Regions from separate parts of the Homo sapiens genome. Here regions 1 and 3 are each linked to region 2. Evidence: promoter capture Hi-C in 16 types of primary human blood cells and fetal thymus (Javierre and others, 2016). All regions are on one chromosome and are shown on one strand. Each heading gives the region's core, a stretch centred on a gene start or on the middle of the fragment in contact. The rest is flanking DNA. Distances are from core to core; before and after follow the strand shown. Region 1 holds the start of SLAMF8 (SLAM family member 8). Region 2 has its middle 14 kb from the start of ACKR1. Region 3 holds the start of VSIG8 (V-set and immunoglobulin domain containing 8).

The links. Contacts are between HindIII fragments. The CHiCAGO score rates a contact against its expected background, and 5 or more counts as called.
Region 1: a contact is called between the fragment with the promoter of SLAMF8 here and a fragment that was not itself captured in region 2, in 1 of 17 cell types (megakaryocytes). The highest score is 5.5, in megakaryocytes.
Region 3: a contact is called between the fragment with the promoter of VSIG8 here and a fragment that was not itself captured in region 2, in 2 of 17 cell types (erythroblasts and total B cells). The highest score is 5.8, in erythroblasts.

Annotation. Positions count from the first base shown.
Region 1 is chr1:159,825,443-159,828,142 of GRCh38, reverse strand. SLAMF8 (SLAM family member 8) reads right to left here and starts at 1,270. Exons shown (of 5, transcript NM_020125.3): 1 at 1,205-1,270. The coding sequence starts at 1,244. The HindIII fragment of the contact is 24,464 bases long and covers 1-2,700 here.
Region 2 is chr1:159,217,358-159,220,227 of GRCh38, reverse strand. No RefSeq gene overlaps it. Among named protein-coding and RNA genes, the nearest start is that of ACKR1, 14 kb to the right of the region's middle. The HindIII fragment of the contact is 3,320 bases long and covers 1-2,870 here.
Region 3 is chr1:159,861,277-159,863,976 of GRCh38, reverse strand. VSIG8 (V-set and immunoglobulin domain containing 8) reads left to right here and starts at 1,320. Exons shown (of 7, transcript NM_001013661.1): 1 at 1,320-1,504. The coding sequence starts at 1,456. It overlaps LOC107985216 (a long non-coding RNA gene), which reads right to left. Exons shown (of 2, transcript XR_001738263.2): 2 at 1-2,700. RefSeq lists enhancers at 992-1,904, 1,905-2,700. The HindIII fragment of the contact is 16,901 bases long and covers 1-2,700 here.

The sequences.
Region 1 (2,700 bases), core at 21-2,520, 610 kb before region 2:
TTATTTTTGGGCTGGGTGTGGTGGCTCATGCCTGTAATTCCAGCACTTTGGGAGGCTGAGGAGGGCGGATCACTTGAGGTCAGGAGTTTGAGACCAGCCTGGTCAACATGATGAAACCCTGTCTCTACTAAAAATACAAACATTAGCCGGGTTTAGTGGCAGTGACCTGTAATCCCAGCTACTCAGGAGGCTGAGACAGGAGAATCGCTTGAACCCAGGAGGCAGAGGTTACAGTGAGCTGAGATGCACCATTGCATTCCAGCCTGGGTGACAGAGCAAGACTCCGTCTCAAAGAAAAAAAAAAAAGGCAAATTATTTTTGTCTCACCAAACAGACCAAGGCCTTTTTTGAGGTTAAGGTGTGATTTCCTGCACATGTTTAGAAATATTGAAGAAATCTGCAGGCTTTGGAGCTCTCAGGGCCAGGAACTCAGGCAAGGAGATGAAACAAAGCAACCCAAAGTCCCTATGAGCCTCTGATGTAAACAATATCATCTTAATCTTTGCTGCACCCCATAAACCCTCATCCATGGCCCGGCAGTGTTGACCCATGTCATGTTGGCTGCTTGTTGACCAAGGAAGGGAACTCAGGCATCAGATGGATAGAGGGATCGCCCGGTGTGGAGGAGACCCCGTGTATCAGCCATCCCAACATCACACCACCGTCGGCCACCCCTAAGTCCACGTGGGCCACATTTAGCCTCTCTCATCCCTACTTAGTACTTGCCTCCCCTTATAAAGGCCTGTAGGGAGGGACCTCAGCTCCCCCACAGGCTGTTGAAAACACACTCTGCTGATTGTGGGGAACCCTGCTCTGCCCTGCCCTCTGCTACTCTCCTCAAACTCTGCAGAGTTTCTGCATGCTAACACTGCCGGGTCCTCACCATTCTCACAGCCGACTTTCTCTCCAAACCAGCAGTATCACCCACTGGCTCCGTTTTTACTGCTCTGGGCCACAAAACAGCTCATGTCTCACAGATAAGAATACCCCTCAAGCTGCCACCTCCTCCCTCCCAGGACCCTGCATCTCTTTGTATCTGCCTAGCTTAAAATGTTGCCCAAGAGCTTGTTCTAGTCTTTCCTACCCACCCTCAGCTTCTGGGTTCTCACCCAGGTCGAGGGATCCCTGCCCAGACGTCTGGCATAGGCAGCTGGGGAGGGGCCTTCAGCTCTCCGAGGACAGGCTATCTGCCTGCCCCACTTACCTTCCCAGAGAAGCAGACTCCACAGGGGCCTCATGACCATCTTTCTCTGGAGAGGCAGGCAAACTCCCTCGACAGCCAAAATCCAGAACCTCCCAGGCCGAGTGGATGCACGGGAGGAGCTGTGGTCCTTCTGGAAAGTCCCATGTTCAGAAGGAGGAATCTTGACTCAGAACAGGATGTCCCAAAAGTGAAAACATCCAGAATAAAGTGGAAGTTGTCCCTGGGCCTCTCTGGGCTTACAGGAGCAGATTCTTGTAAGTCAGCCTCTTTCACATGCACATGGTTGGCTAACACGTGGCGACAACAGCCCCCACACAAGCCACATCCTCCTTGCTGGATCTCGCTGGCCTTCCTGCATCTCAGCCTGCCTCACTACTATCTGTCATCCTCATTCTAGCTTAAAATGCTTCTGTGGCCTCCCGTGGACCTGAGGATGAGGACTAACTCTGCTCTGCATGCAGGCCCTCCTGAGTCAGGCCTTCTTCTCCAGGCTGGTCGCCCACAGTCATTCTGCCCTCCAGCCATCCCAAGCCAGAAGGCCTCCTTCTCAGAACTACTGATTTCACACTTCCCTGTGTTGTACTTTCCCCACCACCCCGACTAGGCATGCTGCTCCCTCTATCCTTGCAAACAGAACATGGCTGTGCAGTCGGCGAGGACATCCTTCCAGGCTTCCTGACCACAGGCAGGTGAGAGGCCCTCTCCTTGTGTCCTGTGCATGCCCACACCTCCCTCTTTACTCTTGCTGTGTTGTTGATGACAGTTTTCTGGTTTTCACAGACTGTTTAGCCAGTCTTTTGTTCCCTTCTGTGTTGCCCTCAGTGCTTGGCACATTACAGATGTTTCATGAGTATTTGTTAAGTGAGTGAGTACATTCTAGACATGGCTACACATCTGGCTTTATGTAAGCCTTGCAACTCTCCTCTGAGAGGATCATCTTGTTACCTGGTTAGAAATGGGAAAATGTGAAAACCAGAGTGAGGTTAGGCCCCTTGCAGAGCTCACAGAGAGGCAGAGCTGGAACTTGAACCTCAGCCTTTGAAGTGTGGTCTATTTTGCCACAGTTATCCCCTCCTCATCCTGTTTCTCTTCTCACTTCAAGTTTCTTGGTTTCTTGCCAGTGAAGGTTTTTAGAGGACGTGTTGCCCCTGAGGAAAATTCCTGCTAGTCTGGAGTGTGGCTCATCGTATCTGGTCCTGCACAGCCTCTCGCCTGTCAATCAAACTGGACACTGAGCTTTGGACTCAGCCAGGAACTAGGCATATAGGATGGGGTGGGGGTGGGTGGTGAGCAGGAGGATTTTGGGATAAGGTTTTTGCCCTCCAGGTACTCACAACCAAAATGTAGAGATAGGTACACCAAGGAAAGTGAAGGGTTATCTGCAGACAGACACCACTTTGTGCAAACAGGTAGTCAGTCCTCAGAAGTGGGTGGGAAAGAGGGCTTCGCGGATCTGGGCAGGGGACGCTTCTTGAGAAGGTGGAATTTGAGCTGTG
Region 2 (2,870 bases), core at 76-2,575:
CTCCCCTTGTCCCTTCTGCCACATGAGGACATGAAAGAAGGCAACTGTCTAAGAACCAGGAAACTGGACCTCACCGGATGCCGAATCTGCCAGCACTTTGATCTAGGACTTTCCAGCATGGAGAACTGTGAGAAATGGATGTTTGTTGTTCATAAGCCACCCGGCCTATGGCATTTTGTTATAGCAGTCTGAAGAGACTAAGACAACTGTGTTATATGCCTTCTATTATATTATTAATATTAATAAAATATTTCAAGTATTAAAATTTTTATAGACTCTGAGTTCGTAGAAACCAAGGTCTGTATGTTTTTCATTTCTGAATTCCACAATAACAGTACAATATCTACACTGCATTGTACCCTAAAACTTAAAATATAATAAATAAAAAAAAATTAAGATGTTTACTGAATGCCTACTAGAGTTCAGCTACTCAGCTTGGCTGAGGCACACAGAAGGTATTTGTTGATTAGTTGGTCAGCAAATTCATATAGGAGAATTTTGAATCTATGATTAGTAAAACAGTTCTCTCATTTAACTCATATGCTATCTCAGTATTCAAACTCACAGGAATCATCAGCCAGGGGAGTCTTTTCTCTGACTTAATAAGTCAAAGAAGGAACACCCTGACGTCCTGTTGCTTCTGAGACTCTCCTCTCAGCGCCAGGCAGAACAGCAATGATCAGGCTTGTTCTTTATTTCCTCTGTTCTCCATGCACATAGCTGTGCCTGCCCACTGTCTGGCAGCCTGCAAGAACAAACAGGCTCCCCTCTGGGCCTTTTGAGCCCCTGAACCATTAAAAGGCTGTTGGGAAGCACCTACTGTGAGCCAAACAGTAGGGAAAGCAGGTTCTATAAGAAAAGGCGGATTGGGGGGTAATACACTCTAGAGGAAAAGAGTCTCAAGGGACTGGGAGCTTGATGTTTGACTTCACAGCTTATATTCATATAATGTTCATCATCTGCCCACTGTCCTATGTGCCAAAGAGATTTTTGTCTTGCACTGCCACCTCACCAGTGAAAAAGCATGTAACTTGCTGAGAATGTCCATTCCAATCAGCATAGTTGTTAGCAGGAACACAGCAGATGTCACCTAGCAGCCGGCATGGCGTGCTTTGAGGATTCAGCCTAAGGAGAGGCTGCTGTGCTGCCCTTGTGCCTGGCCCCAGGTGCCACCTCTCCTTGGTGCTGGTGCTCCTGCGCCTTCACGTATCCCCTTCCCCGACACGCACACACTGGCTCGTCCTGTATCAGGGCCCAGAGACCGTGGGTGGGTGAGAATGAAAGTGAGAAGAGCAAAATCTATCCTTGACAACCTGAAGGTGGCAATAATCACATTTACTTGAAAATTGCCTGAGAATGAGCTGCATGTTCTGTGTGAATATGCAAACACATGCAAATGTATGCAAATGTGCGACCCTCCTAACTATTTTCTCCATCTGGATGTGGCCCCTTGTGGTGAGGCCAGAAGGAAGCAGTCTCCAAGTGATGGATTCCGTCCAGTTCTCCCTCTAACCTGAGAGGGTAGCTGGAGAAACATCCGCCTTTGTTCTCCTGGTCACCTTTCTCCTATTGCTGGGGTTTGGGAGGGGGCTCGGGCACCCAGATAAGCTCACGGTCAATAAATATACATTGCTTTGATTTATTCTGGGCTGATGTAGAAAAACCAGCCTGTCTCATCCTTGTCCCCTGCCTCATGCCCAGTGCCTGCCATCCCATTTTGGCCCCACCATGATGTAATAACATGATAACATTATCATATTGCTGTGAGTATTACAGTAATGTGGGAACGTTCCACATCCCTGAGCCTCAGCCACCATCTGTAAAACAAGCAGGCAGGCCGGGAGCGGTGGCTCACGCCTGTAATCCCAGCACTTTGGGAGGCCAAGGCCAGAAGATCACCTGAAGTCAGTAGTTTGAGACCAACCTGGCTAACAAGGTGAAACCCCATCTCTACTAAAAATACAAAAATTAGCCAGGCATAGTGGCGTATGCCTGTAGTCCCAGCTACTCGGAAGCCTGAGGCAGGAGAATCGCTTAAACCCCGGAGGTGGAAGTTGCAGTGAGCTGAGATCGTGACACTGTACTCCAGCCTGGGCGACAGAGTGAGACTGCATACTCAAAAAAAAAACAAAAAAAAAAAACACTAAATAAATAAATAAATAATAAAATAGAAACACAAAAGCAAAATCTGGTTCGCTTTAAGGTCCCTCCTGGAAGGTTAGATCTGAATGTCTTGAGTTTATGATGGGAAATGCAGCAACAGGGCAGTGCTGTTATGACTTATCACCAGCTGAGCACATAAGAGAAAAGGGAACAAGGACCTTAAATTCATCTGGAACATAGACCTGGGTTCAAATCTCAGAATTTTCTGGTTTCTAACAGTTGATACTTGGACAAGCTGCATAGCTTCTGATTGGAGAGCCCCATTTTTCTCCTTAGTAAAAAGAGTCCATTAGCTCCCAAAGGGTTTTGTACTTAACTTCTATCCTCAATACATACATTAACATACACAACAGACATTTGGAATGCATACTATCTGTCCAGCACTGGGCTATGTTCTGGAAAGTAAAAGGAAGCCACAACCTTTGTCCTTAAGAAACCCGGTTAGCGGGACCAACAAACACATAAGGACAGAGGTTAAATAATACACGATAGTCATTATTACGCCCAGTGTGCTTCAGGAGCACAGAGCAGTCACACCTACCTCACCAACCCAGCTTGCGGGGACAGAGAGGATGGGCTCAGGTCAGGAAACACCAGAGCTAAGTCTCGAACATGTAGGCATTAGCTAGATGAAGGGGAGGTGTTGAGAGCTTTCCAGGCCAATGGAGCAGCCCCACACTAAGGCACAGAGGCCTGAGGGAAGGTGG
Region 3 (2,700 bases), core at 71-2,570, 640 kb before region 2:
GCGCCCTGTTATTGTTGGGAGTTCAGGTGCAACGGCTTGGAATGCAGAGACGCGTGGACTCCTTGTGTTTCCTTAATGTTCTGACTTATTTTTCCCCAGAGGGGTGGGCCCTGGCAGCATCCCTGAGCCCCATAACTCTCCCTAACACTCTTCCTCCTCTGCCCTTTCTGTGCCCCATGGTAGGGATGGGGGCAGTCCCTGACTCCTTTGAGGGAGTTGAGCTATTGAATGGGGTCACTCATGTCCTGACTCCCACCATGGAGTCCAACAAGGCACATGCCCATTCTGTCCCCCTTAGACAAGCCAACAAGGGGTGGCCCTTCACTTGCTCCCCATGCCTACCAGGACCCTCCCCACCCCAGCACGAACTTACCCAGAACTGTGCTGGTTTAGTCAGCCCGATGACCAGTCCAGGTTATGAGGGTCCTTGGTCTCAAGGACCCAGTTAATACTGGGACTGCATTAACCCTCAAGACCTGGCTACTCTTTCTGGGCAGAGAAGCCAGGACACCAAGCGATCCCTCAAGAAGTTCACTCAGAGGGGCTTAGCCATCCTCACAGAGACACCCTGACACAGACATCCTGCCTCCCTCCCACAGACATTGCTGAGGGGTGCACACGCTTACACAGGCACCCCCTTCCCTGGTCCTCTTGGCGCTGTTCTCTCCAACACTCCCTCACTAGCCCATCAGTCACCTTACTCCTAGCACACACCCTGGACCCCCCATAGCACCCCTGCTCCCAGGGGTCCCCTACACTTGGGGATGGCCTTGAGTCGAGTATGGGTGTGGAGGACAGTTCCAGAGGGGACAGCCAGGAGGAGACTCTGTTCCTGCACACACCCCTTCTCTCCTCTTTCAGCTCAGGAGGCCTGAGTCCCTTTGAAAGGCCTGAAGCCTGGGGGAAGGTGGGCTGGACACTCCTGGGGAACCCTATGCCCTGGGATCAGGATTAACTCTTCAGGTCCTGGCCACTCTTTCTCCCAAGCCTGGCTTCTCCTTCCTCTTCCCCACTTCCCCCAGGGAAGGAGGCAGCAAATGAGTGGTGAGGGGAGCCCTTGGAAGCTGTAAATGAGGTGACTGTTGTCACCCTGAGGATGTGGCCAGGAGGAAGTGAAGTTTAACAGGTGCCTAATTACAAGTCCCGCTGGCTGTCCTGTGCCACTCTTAGGACAGGGAAGAGCTTGGGTGAGGGCTGGGTAATGCCCAGGTAGGCCACCCTGTCACCCTGCTAATTAGGGTTCCTGGGACTCCTCCCCAAGGCGGGGACCAGGCCCCCTCCCTCCCATAGAAATAACTCCAGCTGCTCCCCAGCTGGGCACTCATTGCACCTTCCTGCCACCCCAGGCAGTGTCTGGGCCCTCAGCTCCCCCTCCCTCCACCTACCCCCTCACACCCACCACTACGACCCCACGGGATACCCAGCCCAGACGGAGGAAACACCGAGCCTAGAGACATGAGAGTTGGAGGAGCATTCCACCTTCTACTCGTGTGCCTGAGCCCAGGTACGGGGCTGGGCAGGGGGCAGGGTAGCCAGCATGAGGCTAGGTGGGAAGGAAAGGGGCAGCAAGGGCTCACAGTGGAGCCTGGGGCTGCCTGAGTTGCCTGGCAGGGTGCTGCCCACCCTTGCCCTGCTGCAGCCGGGTGTGGGTATTACCAGGGGACCTTTCCCCAGGAGACCCTGTGCCTGATGTTCAGGGTGTGTGTCTGTAGTGCAGAGGTCTTTGAGTGGATCTTTATATGTCCCCTGTCGGGCTCACACATGTGTGCAGGTGCCCTGCAAGCTCATGCCGTGACTAGGAGGAGAGGGATTGATTGCTCTGCAGGAGCTGGAGGTGGGGTAGGAGAGGGGTAAGCACGGGCATTGGGTGAGGGCTCAGGAGGAGCTTGGGAAGGATCAATTTTCATCAGACTGTGTGCTATTCCCAACGCTACTCCTTCTCTCCCAAGGCCAGGGCCAAGGGGCAGGGAAGTCACTTGCCTTGAAAGGGCAAGAGACTAAGTCTGGTGTAAGTCTGAGTGGTTTCTTCCATCATGGCCAGTGACAGCTCAGGCCTGAGACCTCAGCCTTGGGCCCCCTGTGCTATGACAGGGCAGTGCCCCACTCTAGGATGAGGCCTGAGGGTGGTGGGGATGGCAACTCCAGAGACTTCTCACCCCACCAGGACAGGTCCACAGGGCAGGGCTCAAGTTTGGACATTGTGGCTTCCTGCCCAGGTTGGGGCAAGTTCCACCAAGGGGCATTCTATGCCAACATCACTGGAAAGGGCTCCGAGTCCCTCTTGCAGTCTGGATTTGGGATGAAGGGGCATGAAGGAGGAATTTGGGAAGGCGGGGTGACATTTTCAGCCTTTGTGTGAGCGTGAATGTGTATGTGAGTGTGTGGGTGCGTGCACCTGCATGGGAATGATGACATTTCCGGCAGGATAGCTGCAGCCCTTCTCTGTCTGATGAGAGCAGGGCTGGCAGAGTCCACTCGGGAGGCTCCAGCTGTGCTGTGGGGACCCGGACTTCCCCCTGTGTGGTGTGTCAATGGGTGTGTGAGGACAACTCAGCACTGGCTGCATTAACGCATCAATACCCTCAGCTGGAGCCGCCTTTTCTCCCCTCCCTTACCTCCAGAGGGAAGATCAGGAGTTCTGGAAGCACCTTGAAGATTCAGAAAGAATTTGCAAGCAGAGAGTAGGCACCACTATTGAGA